3 separate regions of the Homo sapiens genome follow, and regions 1 and 2 are each linked to region 3. Evidence: promoter capture Hi-C in human tissues and cell types (Jung and others, 2019). All regions are on one chromosome and are shown on one strand. The core of a region is centred on a gene start or on the middle of the fragment in contact, and the rest is flanking DNA. Distances in the headings are between cores, read along the strand shown.

What was found. The method cuts DNA at HindIII sites, captures the fragments that hold promoters and counts their contacts. A contact is called where the count stands out against the background at its distance.
Region 1: a fragment that was not itself captured here is called in contact with the fragment with the promoter of ENGASE in region 3 in 2 of the 25 tissues and cell types used here (dorsolateral prefrontal cortex and heart right ventricle).
Region 2: a fragment that was not itself captured here is called in contact with the fragment with the promoter of ENGASE in region 3 in 4 of the 25 tissues and cell types used here (dorsolateral prefrontal cortex, liver, spleen and 1 more).

The regions. Positions count from the first base shown.
Region 1 is chr17:79,191,006-79,195,866 of GRCh38, forward strand. The region is part of intron 4 of RBFOX3 (RNA binding fox-1 homolog 3); the gene reads right to left. Among named protein-coding and RNA genes, the nearest start is that of ENGASE, 120 kb to the left of the region's middle. RefSeq lists an enhancer at 1,806-2,463. The HindIII fragment of the contact is 5,468 bases long and covers 1-4,822 here.
Region 2 is chr17:79,147,257-79,151,975 of GRCh38, forward strand. All of the region lies in intron 4 of RBFOX3 (RNA binding fox-1 homolog 3), which reads right to left. Among named protein-coding and RNA genes, the nearest start is that of ENGASE, 75 kb to the left of the region's middle. The HindIII fragment of the contact is 7,480 bases long and covers 1-4,719 here.
Region 3 is chr17:79,073,120-79,078,020 of GRCh38, forward strand. ENGASE (endo-beta-N-acetylglucosaminidase) reads left to right here and starts at 1,705. Exons shown (of 14, transcript NM_001042573.3): 1 at 1,705-1,971; 2 at 4,311-4,378; 3 at 4,544-4,745. The coding sequence starts at 1,826. RefSeq lists a silencer at 1,567-2,106. The HindIII fragment of the contact is 14,853 bases long and covers 189-4,901 here.

The sequences.
Region 1 (4,861 bases), core at 839-3,338, 120 kb after region 3:
AGGAAACAGCATTCAGGGTTCCTGAGTAGAGACCCATGGGAAGAGGTCAAGGTTTGTTCTTCCATCAACAGCGGGTGGGTCTGAGCTGACCCCTGGGTAGAGGCAGCAAGGGTCCACCTCCAGCAGTGAAGTGGCTGGGTGCTCCCATTTGCCATCAATTTTTAGAAAATCTTACTTAACAGAGAAACCAATATCCCTTCCTCCAGCACTGGGCAAGGAGAGGCCACATGGAGAGCACGTGCAGCACTGTAGAGAGGGAATGGTGGCCCGGGGGTACCCCGCACCCCAGGACTGGGAAGTTAGGACCTTCAAACTCTGACCAAACCTGAAAGACTCTGGAAAAAGCAGCTGCCTGTAGCCCCAGCCCCAGCACTCAGTGAGTTAAAAAGCAACCGCAAGGCCTCGGGAAACAGAATGTGAGGGGCGGGCACTCTGTTCGTCCCCTGCCCCTGCATGCCCCCTAAAGCCAAAGCGTCAGCTCATTAAAAGCTCATTAGGAGCCCAAGGCACACAAAGGCCCGGAGAGGCATTACTGTCCTGGCAGAGTGCGTGGCCCTGGGGAGGCCGATGCACTGCTAGGCAGCCAGTGCCAAGCTGCAGACAGGGGCCGGGCCATGGAGTGACGAGGCGGCCGGCGGCGGGAGGTAGGGGTGCAAGGTCCTTCTAACGAAGCCTCATGGGAGCTGAGCTTGTCCCAGGACTCAAGGGAGTGGGGACGAGCATATCTGCCAGGAAGCAAAGGAACAGATGCAGACGGTAACCTACAGACTCACCTCCCCACACCTCCACAATGACAGAGGCCAGATAAGAGTTCCTTTCTCAGGCTTTGAGAGCAAGGAGAAGGCAGGGTTAGGCAGGACCCTGGGCAGCCTCTTCCCTCCCGGCAGCCTAAGATACACCAGGGAAGTTGTGTGAATTGCTGCCCGGTGAGCAGAGATGGGGCAGTGGATGCTGATGTGTTTTAGTCCCTAAAAGTTGCCCAAGAGCAGGGGAAGTGCCTATCTGGTGGGGGTGTGGAAGCTTGTCTTGAGTTAGGTGTGAAGCTATTCTGAGGCTGCCACCCCTGCCAACCCCCTACCGTCTCCTCCCTCTTGATCCTGGGAGGAAAATCCCTCCCCTTTCCTGATCCACTCTAGCATTGGGGTCCAGCGATGTTTTGGCCCCAACACAACTCTCCAGTTCCAAGGCATGAGGTTTCTGAGAATTCACTGGCAAGGAGGTGTGGGAAGTTGGCAGCCAGCTGAGGGCCCTATGCTGCTCTTAGCCGCTCCCGGCCTTTCCTCCCACTGAGAGTTGCTGCATCAGGATGGGGGGGAGCCGTCTGTTCCTGCTCTTACTTCCCTAGGATGCTGTGACTTTTGATTCCTGCTTGATTAATATACAGCCAACAGAGACTGTATTTAAGGCAGCTTTAATTCTCTCAGGTCACCAAACTCGGGAGCAGCAAAGCTGCAAGGAGCCAGCCCCGCAATAGATCAAACACCAGGACCTTCAAATCGCTCTGTGGCCCAATTTCTTATTGCTGCTGCTGCCTGATAACCCTCCCAGCTTGGAGGCAATAGCTCCTTTTTCTAGGGGTGGACACGGGGGCTGGATGTGGATGTCCATGGCTGAAACCCTCCTGGCAGCACGGAACGAGAGCTGGAAGGACCGGGCACGAGAGTGAGACCGTCAGCACCAGGGACAGCTCCAGCCAGACCCTGGAGCCGCCGTGGCTGCCTACACCTCTGTCTCCCTGGGCCCAAACAAGCACGGGTGTCAGTGAACTCTCTGTTTTGCAGGGGTGGCCAGCGGCTAGCCCTGCTGATGGCCACCTTTTACCAAAACATCCTCGCCTGTTGAGTTAGCCTGCTGCTCCCTTTGGGGCCCTGCACACTCTCACTGGCTCTGTCTCCCTTTAGGAGATCCAGCTTTTGCCATCCCTGACCCCCAGAGGGAAGCAGGCTGCTGTGAGGACTATCTGTCTGGCCTCTGTGCCAGCCCCTGGTGCCCAGGGCTTCTGTGGGGCCAACAGTTTCCTTCCTGGCTGAACCTCATCCGCTTCCAACTTGCCTCATTAGCATCTCCTGAAAGGCAGGCTAATTCCTCTGCTGAGCACCTGGGTGTTCACTTGCTCGGTGGGGGCAGGGGCAGGCATGCCGGCATGGCTGCCGTTTCCTCCAAAGCACCTTTTATAGACCTGGTCCGTGTTGCAATTTGGGAGGCACCGGGGAGCAGCACAATGTGGGGAGATTACGCTCGGAAGCCGGGCTTGTAAATTACCTCCCAGTGGGGGCAGGGAATGTGCCTATTAACAGAGAACCTGGTGCACACAGCCATTCTCATTTAAGAGCAGGATCTTCCCGGATCAGACTCTGATCAATCCTTGCTGCCACCAACACACCATATATTAGGAAGAAATGTTTGCATTGAAGTTGGAGGAAGCCCCATACTCACCTCCCCCCGCCAACCCCCTACTGCTGTTTTATTAGGATTTTCTCTAAACCCAGCCCCATTGGATTTATTCCCCCTGCTCTGCCTCTATCCACTTAAAAATATTGTCTATGGATTTTCAAATTATTGCTACACTTTCTAAGAGAAGGATGCAGTGGTTAAAAATTAACAGCAAATTTATGGGAATTCTATATGGCAATTACAGAATTATAATGAAGTGGCTGCCACTTGGCTGAGTGTGGGTAATTGGAAATCCACACTGGGAAGACTAGAATCTTTACTGTATTGGAATTGTGTTTTTGAGAGTAAATGCTGTGGAGAGGGTCAATGGAGCCTTGAGTAGGCCAAGTTCTTCTCTACAGGAAAAAGTGGTCTGCTCACTGCCTATTGGGAGGCAATTTAGAAGGAGAATCACTTATGCTGGCCCACAGGAAGGTGGCTGGAAACCACTGGGGGAGGTAGGTGTTCCGGGCTAGGGGAGCAGGCCTGATGGTGGAGGAGGTGGGAGTGGGAGAGCATGAAGGGAGGAAGGCCAGGGCATCACCAGCAGAGGGAAGGCCCACTGTGGTGCAGCTCGAGCCTGACAGAAGGCAGCACCGAAACCCTGATGTTCTCCCTGCCCTGTGGGTTCATTTTCCTTGGAAAAAAATTTTGGTAAAAAAACAGAGATGATTTTATCATGAAGACACCAATGTTGCTCTCCTTTCACATGGCGCTGTCCTCGCTCCCACAGCTGCTGTGGTAGAAATGGACTTTGCCTCTGATCTCCTCTGCAGCTCTTTAGGGCCTTAGTGGCTGAGAGGTGGAGCAGGAGTCTGTGATAAGGGAGCCCAGATTCCGAGCAAGGGGGTTCTGCCAGGAATCTAGGTACAAACTGCCTCCTGGAAGCCAGGTGCGGTGGCTCACACCTGTAATCCCAGCACTTTGGGAGGCTGAGGCGGGTGGATCACTTGAGGTCAGGAGTTCAAGACCAGCCTGGCCAACATGGTGAAACCCTGTCTCTACTAAAAATACAAAAATTAGCCAGGCATGGTGGGCATGCCTGTAGTCCCAGCTACCGGGGAGGCTGAGGCAGGAGAATTGCTTGAACCTGGGAGGCGGAGGTTGCAGTGAGCTGAGATTGCACCAGCCACTGTACTCTAGCCTGGGTGACAAAGTGAGAGTCTGTCTCAAAAGAAAAAAAAAAACTGCTTCCTGGTTCTTCAAGAGTTTTGTGTAGACCTGGTGCTGTTGAGTGCAGGGGCCACGGGCCACATGTGGGCATTCAGAGCTAAAACACGGCCGGTTCTAATTGAGACACTCCCTGTGTGTGTGGGTGTGTGTGTGTGTGTGTGTGTGTGTGAAATGCACATGGGATTTTGATGACTTGGGACCATAAAAAGAGTGAAAAAATAGTTTGTATCTAGATTACATGTCAAAATGATCATATTCAGGTATATTGGGTTACATAAAGCGTATAATTGAGTGCCCCCAGTTTTGTTTGTTTTACTTTCTCAATGTGGGTGCTGAAGAATTAAGCATTTCCATGTGTGGCCTGCATTATGCTTCTATTGGGCAGCTCTGGTCTAGAACATGGGCAGATGTCTTTCCGCTCAGCCCCACCGACATCAGCTCACTATCATCCCCATTGCCTGCGCGGTGCCTGGCCACGGGTAGCCTCTCAAGAAGAAGTGCAGGCCGGGTGCCGTGGCTGATGCCTGTAATCCCGGCACTTTGGGAGGCTGAGGCAGGTGGATCACCTGAGGTCAGGAGTTCGAGACCAGCCTGGTCAACATGGTGAAACCCTGTTTCTACTAAAAATACAAAAAATAAGCCGGACATGGTGGTGGCTCTCGTGCGTACAGTCCCAGCTACTCAGGAGGCTGAGACACGACAATCACTTGAACCCAGGAGGCAGAGGTTGCAGTGAGTTGACATTGCACCACTGCACTCCAGCTTGGGTGACAGAGTGAGACTCCATCTTGAAAAAAAAAAAGAAGAAGAAGAAATGCAAAATGCAAAGCCAACTGGGTCTCTTCTTAGAGTAAGGCCGCACGCAAGTCTGTGTGGGCAGGAAGCCTGCCCTGATCTCCCCATCCCAAAACACAGACACCCAGCAAAAGGGTCTGCTCCATTTCAGTCTACGTTTCTTGGTTTCTGTCTGCTCTATCCTGATATCTGAGACTGGGGCCTCCTTATTTTGTCCTACCATTGCAGCTGTGCAGGCACACAGTGTCTGCTGAGGCCAGTGGTGGGGTGGCGGGGGTGGCTTTCCTTCTGTGCTCCCTCCCCTACGACCGGACAGCACCAGGAAACCAGCACTCTGTTTTGGGGTTTGGGGATGAGCTCACAGGCAAATACTTCTGCTTCCTAACCTGTGACCTGTGCTAGGAGAAAGTGTCCTAGTGGCCAGCTCCCGTGCGGCTGCACTCGCTTGCATTTGGCTGCT
Region 2 (4,719 bases), core at 991-3,490, 75 kb after region 3:
AATCCATTCAGTGCCCACCTCTGCAGGTGGCCGGGAGGACAGCTTCAGTTCACCAGCCCTACGCAGCCCATTTTACAGAAGCAGAAACCCAGATGTAGAGAAGATAATTAACTAGGGAACATCAGAGTTGGGGTTTGAGCCCAAAGCCTGGAAGAGGCTGTAAAGGCAGTGAGGCCGCCAGCCTTCCCCCAACCCCTCCGGAGCCTGGCCCATGCTGTGCGCCAGAAGAGGCCTGGGGAGTTCCCTGCTGCCCTGAGAGGCAGGCCCTGGTCCAGAGATCGGGAGGATCTCATTGGGGAGGGGGGGGGCTCACCTTCTGGTAAGAGGATCCTGGGGGCCATGGCTGTCCCCTGCCCTTGGCAAAGCCCAAAGCAGGTAGTTGGCAAGACCCCAAAAGGCAGAGCACGTGGAGCCCAATCAGCCTTGCACACCCCTGGTTCTGGGCTGGCCAAGGGCCTTGTCCGCCACCCACAAGTGTGTCCAGGCAGGCTCTGCGCCCCTGGTGCCCAGTACCTGGCCAGGGCTGCCGGTGGGCGACGAGGCAGTAGCTGGTGCAAGCTTTGCCAAGCGCCTTCGATCCAGCCTCTCTCTCATGCTAATGACTGTCAACATGAAACAGAGGCTGTGAAGGGGAAGAAAATTACTCCCTGAAAAGGAATTGACTGATCCCCATCATTTCTCAAGGAATCACTGACCTGTGAATATTTCATTACCCAAAATGCTGCACCATCCATCCAGAGCCGCCGCTGCCGTGGGGCCCCGGGGGGAGGGCGGATGTACAGGGCCAGGCTCTGGCCTGTGACCAAGATTTCCTCACCGTGGGACCCCAGGGTGCGTGCGGCCCTAAAGACCCAGAGACAGGTGTCTGGCAGACAGGAACACGGTAGCCTCTCTAGGTTTTGGGAGCGGTCATGGCTAACACTCCTTGCAGCTGTGTTCTGTGCCTGGAGTCTCCATTCTGGTTGGAGGACTGGGGTCCCGTTTCCCACCCACAGTCCCTTCTCCAGCCTCCCAAGGTCCCTTCCCAAGCCTCTCGGCTGCCTCCTGCAGGCCTCACTCAGAAACTCTTTCCTGGCTTGGGGCGGGTCCAAGTCTAGATGTTTCTAGAAGCTCAAACATGCCCTGTGCCCCACTGCTGGGGCCTGGGTGACAGAAGTTGGGGGGTGGAAGGGGCAGGGCTCATGCCACAGCCTGAAGCCAAACCCAGGTTTGAGCCACAGGAGGAGGGAGAAGCACCCCACACCCCCCCAGACCATGGTTCCAATCCTGCCTCTGTCCCCGGCCACTGAGTGCCTCCCGAAGGCCACTGAACTTCTCTGGGTATCCGCTTCCTAGTCTTCAACTGAGGCTAACAGTAGTTGGGGCCACCTTACAGGTTGTTGAGAATAAACTAAGACCAAGATCTAATCTCAGTGCCCGACATGAGGCAGTTGCTTCCTGGAAGTGATGAGAGTTGGGCGACTCTATCCCAGAAGCACAGGCCACAGAGTCTGAGGACGCAGGGGAGGGAGGCCGACCCCGCCGGGGCTCCCTGCAGCCTCCGAGGGCCTCTGCGGGCCTGGCTGGGGTAGGCTAAGGCCAAAGTCCCCAGAGGATGGGAAAGGCTGAGACCACCCTCGCTGGCACTGATCAGGTCCTGAGTTTGTAAGGTCATGGGGGATGGAGGGGGACAGCCTGGGGCTTTCTCCAGGAACTTCAAGGGGCTGGAATAATTCATTCAAGAAACGCTAACCATAAAACCCTCATGCTGTTCTGGGCTTGGACTGGGTGGGATTCAAACACTCAGCCTGCAGCTCCCACCACTGACGAACAGCGCACTCTAAAGCTTAAGAAGCACAAGGAGATCCTCCAGGGCATGGAGGCTCCCGCAGCACCCAGGCTGGGACCCCCGCTGCCTGCCAGGAAAATGCGACGTCTGTGCTATTATTGCCGGGGTTACACCAGGGATGGTGTTTCCAAATTAGCAAAGGCCTGGGAAGGTGGCAGGGCATCCATCTGGGGCTTAGTAGAGCGTGGGAGGCAGCATCTCGGGACCCCTCCCTGGCCCGGTGCAGCCACGGGGAGCCCAGATGCAGGCAGTGGGGGGAGTGGGGGCACGGGGGAGGACAAAGGGGGGCTTGGCTCAGGCCCAGCCCCGGCCCCTCCTGGTGGCTCTCCCCACTCGTTGGATTGGAACACGGGCATTGCTGTCCTGGGGGAGGAGCAGGGCTGGACACGAGAGTGGACCTGGCCTCAGTGAGAAGGACTTTGGTGGGCTGTGGGGAGGAGCTTCAGGCTGTGAAGTGGGTGGGGCAGTGGGAAGTGTGCCTGGGGGGGTCCGTGGACGATTCCTCCTTCGGGACTGCTTGACCACTGCCTTCCCCGCCAGCTGGACCGTCCCCACACACTGCAGAAGGTTGGGGGTGGCCTAGGGGCTCATGCCCGCCCGCTCAGGCCTTCTCTCACTTTGTCGGACCCAAGACCCTGGGATGTCGAGTGGGGTCAGTAAACGGACCTGCAGGTCCTGGGAGGACAGGGCAGGGCGGCTGCTGGGCATCGCCATGAGCTGAGCTTCCACTGAGCATCTCTGAGTGCCAGGGTGAGGGGACAGAGATGGCTGCCAGCCTCCTCCTCTGGGGCCTGGAGACAGGAGGGGGACAGGTGTTATAATAAGCAGTGACAGTGGCTGCGCTGAGGACTCAGGCTAAGTGCCAGGGTGGGGATGGGGATGGGGGCTGAGGGTGGGGATGGGGATGGGGGTGGGGGTGGGGGATGGGGATGGGGGTTGAGGGTGGGGGGTGGGGGTGGGGGATGGGGATGGGGGTTGAGGGTGGGGGTTTGGGGTGGATCTAGTTGGAGGCAGACAAGGAGGGACTCTCAGGTATCCACAGGGGAGGGGCAACCAGGAGCTGCCCTTGAGGTCAGGACAAGAGGGTGGTGGGCAGCGGTGGGCGGCAGCTGTGGGCCACGACCTAGAGCAGCAGCCACGTCCCAGGAGACTGAGGCCCTCAAGGCACAAAGCCTCGTGGGGGGTCCTGGCTGGGGCCCAGGCCACTCTGCTTGGGTAGGACGCTCTGGGTCAAGGGGCAGAGTGGCTGCTGTGGGCCTGGGACACGCAGACAGTAGAGGCCTGGCCGTTCTCTGGGCTCTGCAGGCGGCCAACCCCCTAACTCAGCTCCATCCGCAACCCCCATACCCTGTTCCCCAGCCCAGGAGGTTCCTTCAGTGCCTCAACCTCACCCTGGTCCCGCCTGCCCATCACTCAAGATAGGAGGCAGCTGAACTGCCGGACACTCTACAGGTGGCCGCGCTGGCTCAACTTCTTTGAGAACCAGGGGAGACAATGGGAGGTGCAGGGCCACCAGAGCTGTCACTGAAGTAGGGGATACCTGACCACCTCTGGGGGCAAGGCCAGGCCTGCCAGGGGCAGGGGCAACAGATTCACCTCCCATCTCCTCCTTTCCCCAGCAACCCCACACCTGCCCCACATTCTTAGCCAGAGAAGAGGCAGGTAGGGATGGGCACTTCCGAGAAAAGAGGGGGGCAGGGAACTGCAGAGGCCACAGGGTGCCTCTGACTGGCCATGGGGCCTCAGGGGGGTCACCTCAGCTCGAGCCTCAGTGTCCCCGTGTGCGCAATGGGAGGACGAGGGCTTGCTCATGCCTAGCGCCGCCTGCGAGGGAGCCTCAGTTGGGCAACGAGCCTGGCTTGCTGCCTGCCACAGAGGGCTGGGCAGTGCTGGTGGCCGCCCCGCTGCTGTGCGGCTCTCACCAGGGCAAGGCCACCTCCCCAGTCCACGCTCCGCAAGTGCTCAGCACACACACATCCCTCCACCATGCTGGGCCCTGGACTCTCAGAACCACAATAAATGCAGCTCTTGGCGCAGATTCTGGGTTTGATCCTCGCGCTGCTCCCCCTACTCGGGGCAAGCAACAAAGCCGGCATCAGACCCTGCGTGCTGACCACCCCCTGCCCTGGGAGGGCTGAGGGGAACACAAGAGAAGAAAAAGACACACAGTCCAGGGGGAGAAGCGAAATCCAGTGCCGGGGCTGAAGGGACCCTGGGTCAGCTGCCCCACGGGACGCGTGGTCCCGACGGCTCTGGGTCCAGACACGTTCGGTGTCACGGGAAGGAGGGGAAGGGGCTTCCCGGCAGAGAGCAAAGGCACGGGGCTGGGAGGGGACCTGCAGGGGGAGGAGGGGAGGCGAGGATGGGAGGGGACCTGCAGGGGGAGGAGGGGAGGTGAGGATGGGAGGGGACCTGCAGGGGGAGGAGGGGAGGCGATGGGAGGGGACCTGCAGGGGGAGGAGGGGAGGCGATGGGAGGGGACCTGCAGGGGGAGGAGGGGAGGCGAGGATGGGAGGGGACCTGCAGGGGGAGGAGGGGAGGCAATGGGAGGGGACCTGCAGGGGGAGGAGGGGAGGCGAGGGTGGGAGGGGACCTGCAGGGGGAGGAGGGGAGGCGATGGGAGGGGACCTGCAGGGGGAGGAGGGGAGGCGATGGGAGGGGACCTGCAGGGGGAGGAGGGGAGGCGAGGATGGGAGGGGACCTGCAAGGGGAGGAGGGGAGGCGATGGGAGGGGACCTGCAGGGGGAGGAGGGGAGGCGAGGGTGGGAGGGGACCTGCAGGGGGAGGAGGGGAGGCGATGGGAGGGGACCTGCAGGGGGAGGAGGGGAGGCGAGGATGGGAGGGGACCTACAGAGGGAGGCGCGGATGGGAGGTGCAGGGGGAGCTCCCAC
Region 3 (4,901 bases), core at 455-2,954:
GCCCACTCAGGCCTCAAACGGATCCAGAGCCCCAGTATGAGCCAATGTGAGCTCAAGGCAGACAGGGCCCCTCCAGGCTTGGCCTGACATCCAGAGAGACCACGAGCCACAGGGGCTAACAAGAGGCCACAAGGCCTAAGTCCTTTCTGTCCTCAGGGGCGTGCAAGGCTGCCTTCACTTTCTTGCTCTTCTAGACCAGGTGCCTACTCTTTGGAAAGGAGAGAAGAAAAGGGAGGTTTGGGCATATTTTCTCCCAGAGACTGAGCATTACCCAAAGGCTGTTCAAAGTATCCCTTAGAACTGTGTTCTAACCTGGGTAGGATGAAAGTTTATCTATTTTTATTGCTAAGCTGCAGGTGAGGGCTTGGGAACACCTGGTTACATGCACCCCAGATCAAGACTGTCCACGTCCGGTGCACCCCTGAACACAGCAGGAGGGAACTTGGGGATCCACTGCCCTCGCTCACTGTAAGCTTCCCAGGACTGAAGCCCCAAAGAGGAGCCCTCTGCCTTCTCTGTCCTCCCCATGGGTCAGCGTGTCCTGCTTCTGAGTGGCCCGTCCTTCCTGCCTAACTGGCTGGCCTGCACCATGGCCCATATTCAACAACCTTAGTCATAGTTCCCACCATTGGCGTTTATGGAAGCTTGGAGCCTCATAAAGTTCAAAGTCTGCAACAATAATAAAGGCCCAGTCAACTTGGCTTGGGCGGCAGCTGCAGCCCAGCACTGGAAGCTCCTAGCTGTGGAGGGGCGTTGGGGCCTGGAGGGAGGAGAGCCTTGGTTTGCCCTGTGGGGCCCAGCCTTGAGTTCTGGCTTCTCAGGGCTCTGTTCTATCATGTTTCCTGTGAACTCCTTTTGTGCCTAAGACGCTGGGCAGTGCCACTCTTGCAGAGGTGCCACTCCAGGCCCTGCACGCTTAGGGGTAGAGCAACTACTACTGTTGGGCACAGGCGTGGGGCTGTAGAAAGAAATCCGTGTTTCACTGGAAAACTATGCATCCTACATAGGACACCAGCTTCCACATGGCCCGATACTAACCTACTAACCTTTCATCTTTTTTTTTTTTTTTTTGAGACGGAGTCTCCCTCTGTCGCCCAGGCTGGAGTGCAATGGCACCGTCTCGGCTCATTGCAGCCTCTGCCTCCCGGGTTCCAGCGATTCTCCAGTCTCAGCCTCTCAGGTAGCTGGGATTACAGGCATGCACCACCACGCCCGGCTAATTTTTGTATTTTAAGTAGAGACGGGGTTTCACCATGTTGGCCAGGGTAGTCTCGAACTCCTGACTTCAGGTGATCCGCCCGCCTCGGCCTCCCAAAGTGCTGGAATCGCAGACGTGAGTCACCGCGCCCGGTCTGAAAATTATCTTTTAATAGGGGTTAGCTGCATGAGTTAAAATCTCATTGCCACCATTTGCTGACTTTGTGCCCTCTGGGAGATTGCTTAATCTCTCTGGGATAAACCTCGGTTTGCTTGACAAAGGAAGCTGGTGAGGCTAAAGAGAGAACTCTAAGATTGGGGCGTTCCGAAGCCTTCTAGAGCCTTCTAGCACCCTGGACTCATAGCCAATGATGGGCAACAACAAGAACGACGACGAACCCTGGGCTCGGAACTCGCCCAGGCCCCGCCCCTCACAGCCCCGCCCCGTCCTCGGCCCCGCCCCCGGCCTGTCGCCTCAACAAAGTCCCCGCCGCGCGGCCGCTGGCCGGGAGTCAGCTCGGAGTCCCGTCCCAGCGCGGCGTCAGCGCTGCGCACTTCCCATTGGCCGAGCGCGGCGCGGGGGCGGGCCCGGGCCTGCGATTGCCTCTCGGCGTGCGCGGACAGTGTCATGGAGGCCGCGGCGGTGACGGTCACCCGGTCGGCTACACGGCGGCGGCGGCGGCAGCTGCAGGGGCTGGCGGCCCCGGAGGCGGGGACGCAGGAGGAGCAGGAGGATCAGGAGCCGCGGCCGCGGCGGCGGCGGCCGGGAAGGAGGTGGGGCTGCGGGGCCCGCGTGAACCCCGATCCGCGGGGCTGAGAGTCCGTGGCCCCGGGGCCCGAGGTTTCCCGGCACGGGCGCGCCGAGGGGCGGGGGGCCGGCGCCTGTGTCCGCTCCGTGCACAGTAAGGGACAGAGGGTGGCAGCGCCCCTCCGCCCCGGTCCGCCCCGCCGTCCTCGCGCCACTGCCGGGCAGCGGCCTCCGGCCCCCGTGCGTGACCCCTGCCTATCTCAGAAATACGGGTGCAAACCCGAGTGGCCGCGGGGCCCAGCGGGAATCCCGACGCCCCGGCCAGACCCCTGCTTCCCACGTCGCTGGTCTATGCGGAAGATCCCGGCGGCGGTGCTCATGCCTGGCTCAGTGGATGCCGGCTGGTGGAAGGGGTGGCCTTCTGTAGGGGTGACACTAGAACTGAGTCTTTGGGGAGGAGGAAGCCTTCAGTAGGTGGAGAATAGGGAGTAGGGTATCCAACTGGCGGGGAACAGAAAGGGCCAAAGCACAGAGACAGAAAGGGACGAACATGCCCCTCTGGGCTGGGCTTCCTTCCTTTGGGGGGCACTTGCCCACCCGGTAAACTCCCCCTCAGTAGGTTGCAGGGGGAGAAGTTAGGAGCACAGACATGGCTTCCGGAAACAGCAGCCGTAGCTTTGTTTCTAAACCCAAAGCAGTGAGACTGCTGAGCATTTCAGACCTCATGAAGATGGGATGAAGGCTGGCTGCTGGGAAAGATATTTTTGGACAGGAGGAATGTGGAGATGGCTCTTTCCCTCCTAGTGGAGGAATGACAGGTGACAAAGGTGACCTGGTGTGGGATTGTTCTGAGAAGGTCTGGGAGGGGGTGGCTGAAGTATAATAAGGACATCAACGAGGAAGGGGGCTTTGGAAAAGGAAGGTGGAGAGGAACAACTGCGGCATCTCTGCTTGAATCCGTCCCCGACCCCTGCAGTTCTCAGGGTCTCCCAATGTCATTCTGGAGGCCCTGGGTCAGTGTTTGGTGATGGCAGATGCTACAGAGGACTCTTTGCAACAGGCCTCTGAATGGCAGTGGAGTGATGGCAGATGACAACTCAGTGAACAAAGAAGTGGCCTTGGGCGTTGGTAGATTTAGGGAATCTCAACGTTGGTGCCATGGCCTCTAAATAGCCACTGCGGTGTCTTCTTACTGCTCCTAAAATAATAATGATTTTTTAGGCCAGGCATGGTGGCTTATGCCTGTAATCTCAGCACTTGGGAGGCTGAGGCGTGTGATCACCTGAGTTCGGGAGTTTGAGACCAGCCTGGCCAACATGGTGAAACTCAGTCTCTACTAAAAGTACAAAATTAGTCAGGCGTGGTGGCAGATGCCTGTAATCCCAGCTACTTGGGAGGCTGAGGCAGGAGACTCACTTGAACCCAGGAACTGGAGGTTGCAGTGAGCTGAGATTTCACCACCTTACTCCAGCCTGGGCGACAGAGCGAGACTCTGTCTCAATTAATCAATCAATTTTTAAAAGAAAGTGGTTTGAGATGTATTTAGGAGCTTTCCATGTTAATGTACCGAAGGAACGAAGGAACTCTTTCTCCCTGTAACATACATCCATGAACAGCGCGGAAGGCACTTAGGGAAGTGTGGCCTATAGAGGAAGCCTGGTCTCTGCTCTCTTAGGACCTGAAACTTTCTGGTGCTTTGGGTATTTGGATATTGCCCCTTGGCCATAGAAAATCCTGGGGACCCTGTGAAGTATTTATGTCTGGTCTTTGTGGTATTGGGGTGGCTGCTTTAGAGGGTAAGGTTTATTCTATTTATTTATTTTTTTGAGATGGAGTCTCGTTCTGTTGCCCAAGTTGGAGTGTAGTGGCACAGTCCCGGCTCACTGCAACCTTCGCCTCCCAGGTTCAAGTGATTCTCCCTGCCTCAGCCTCCCAAGGTGCTGGGATTACAGGCGTGTGCCACCATGCCCAGCTAATTTTTGTATTAGTAGAGATGGGGTTTTGCCATGTTGGCCAGGCTGGTCTTTAACTCCTGACCTCAGGTGATTCGCCTGCCTTGGCTTCCCAAAGTGTTGGGATTACAGGCGTGAACCACTGCGTCTGGCCTAGGGTAAGGTTTATTCTTAGGAGTAATCATTGGTACGTGTGTCCATGTGGAAGCCAAGCCCTGGTTGCTAATATAGGTAAAACCTTAGGATTATCACAGGGCACTTCCTTGCTTTATACAATGTTTCTATAGTTAATATTAAACAACATAAGGCAGAGAATATCTCTCTGTGTTTAGATGAAACTGGTCCATTTGCTTCTAAGTGTTCTTACCTATTTATGTTTTTATTTATAAATGTACAACTCCCTCTTTGCTTAGCATCAAAGATGAAGAAGAAGAGACAGTCTTTCGAGAGGTGGTCAGTTTTTCCCCGGACCCCCTGCCAGGTGAGGAGACAGAGGCTCTGAATACCGATCCACCTTCACACCTGGGGCTTTGGGGCAGGTCAGCCCCTGCCCCCTCTCATGTTCCTTCTCTGTTATTGTTAAAATGTTTCGATTAATCCTATAATAGTTTCCATTAATTGCTCAATGTTTCTGTCCTCGGACCAGTTAGATATTATGACAAGGACACCACCAAACCAATCAGCTTTTACTTGTCTTCGCTGGAGGAGCTCTTGGCGTGGAAGCCCCGCTTGGAGGATGGCTTTAATGTGGCCCTGGAGCCCCTGGCGTGTCGCCAGCCCCCTCTGAGCAGCCAGAGGCCCCGGACTTTGTTGTGTCATGACATGATGGGCGGGTACCTGGATGACAGGTGAGGACCTGGCCTTACATTGATGTTGCTTACATTGTTCTCCTTTGCTGGGGTGGGGGCTGGAGGGGCGGGAGAGAGTGCCATGTGTAGAAAGAGCACTGGGCGGGGAGTCAGGAGACGGGCATTGGAGGGATGGCACTAACTGCGAGAAGAAGG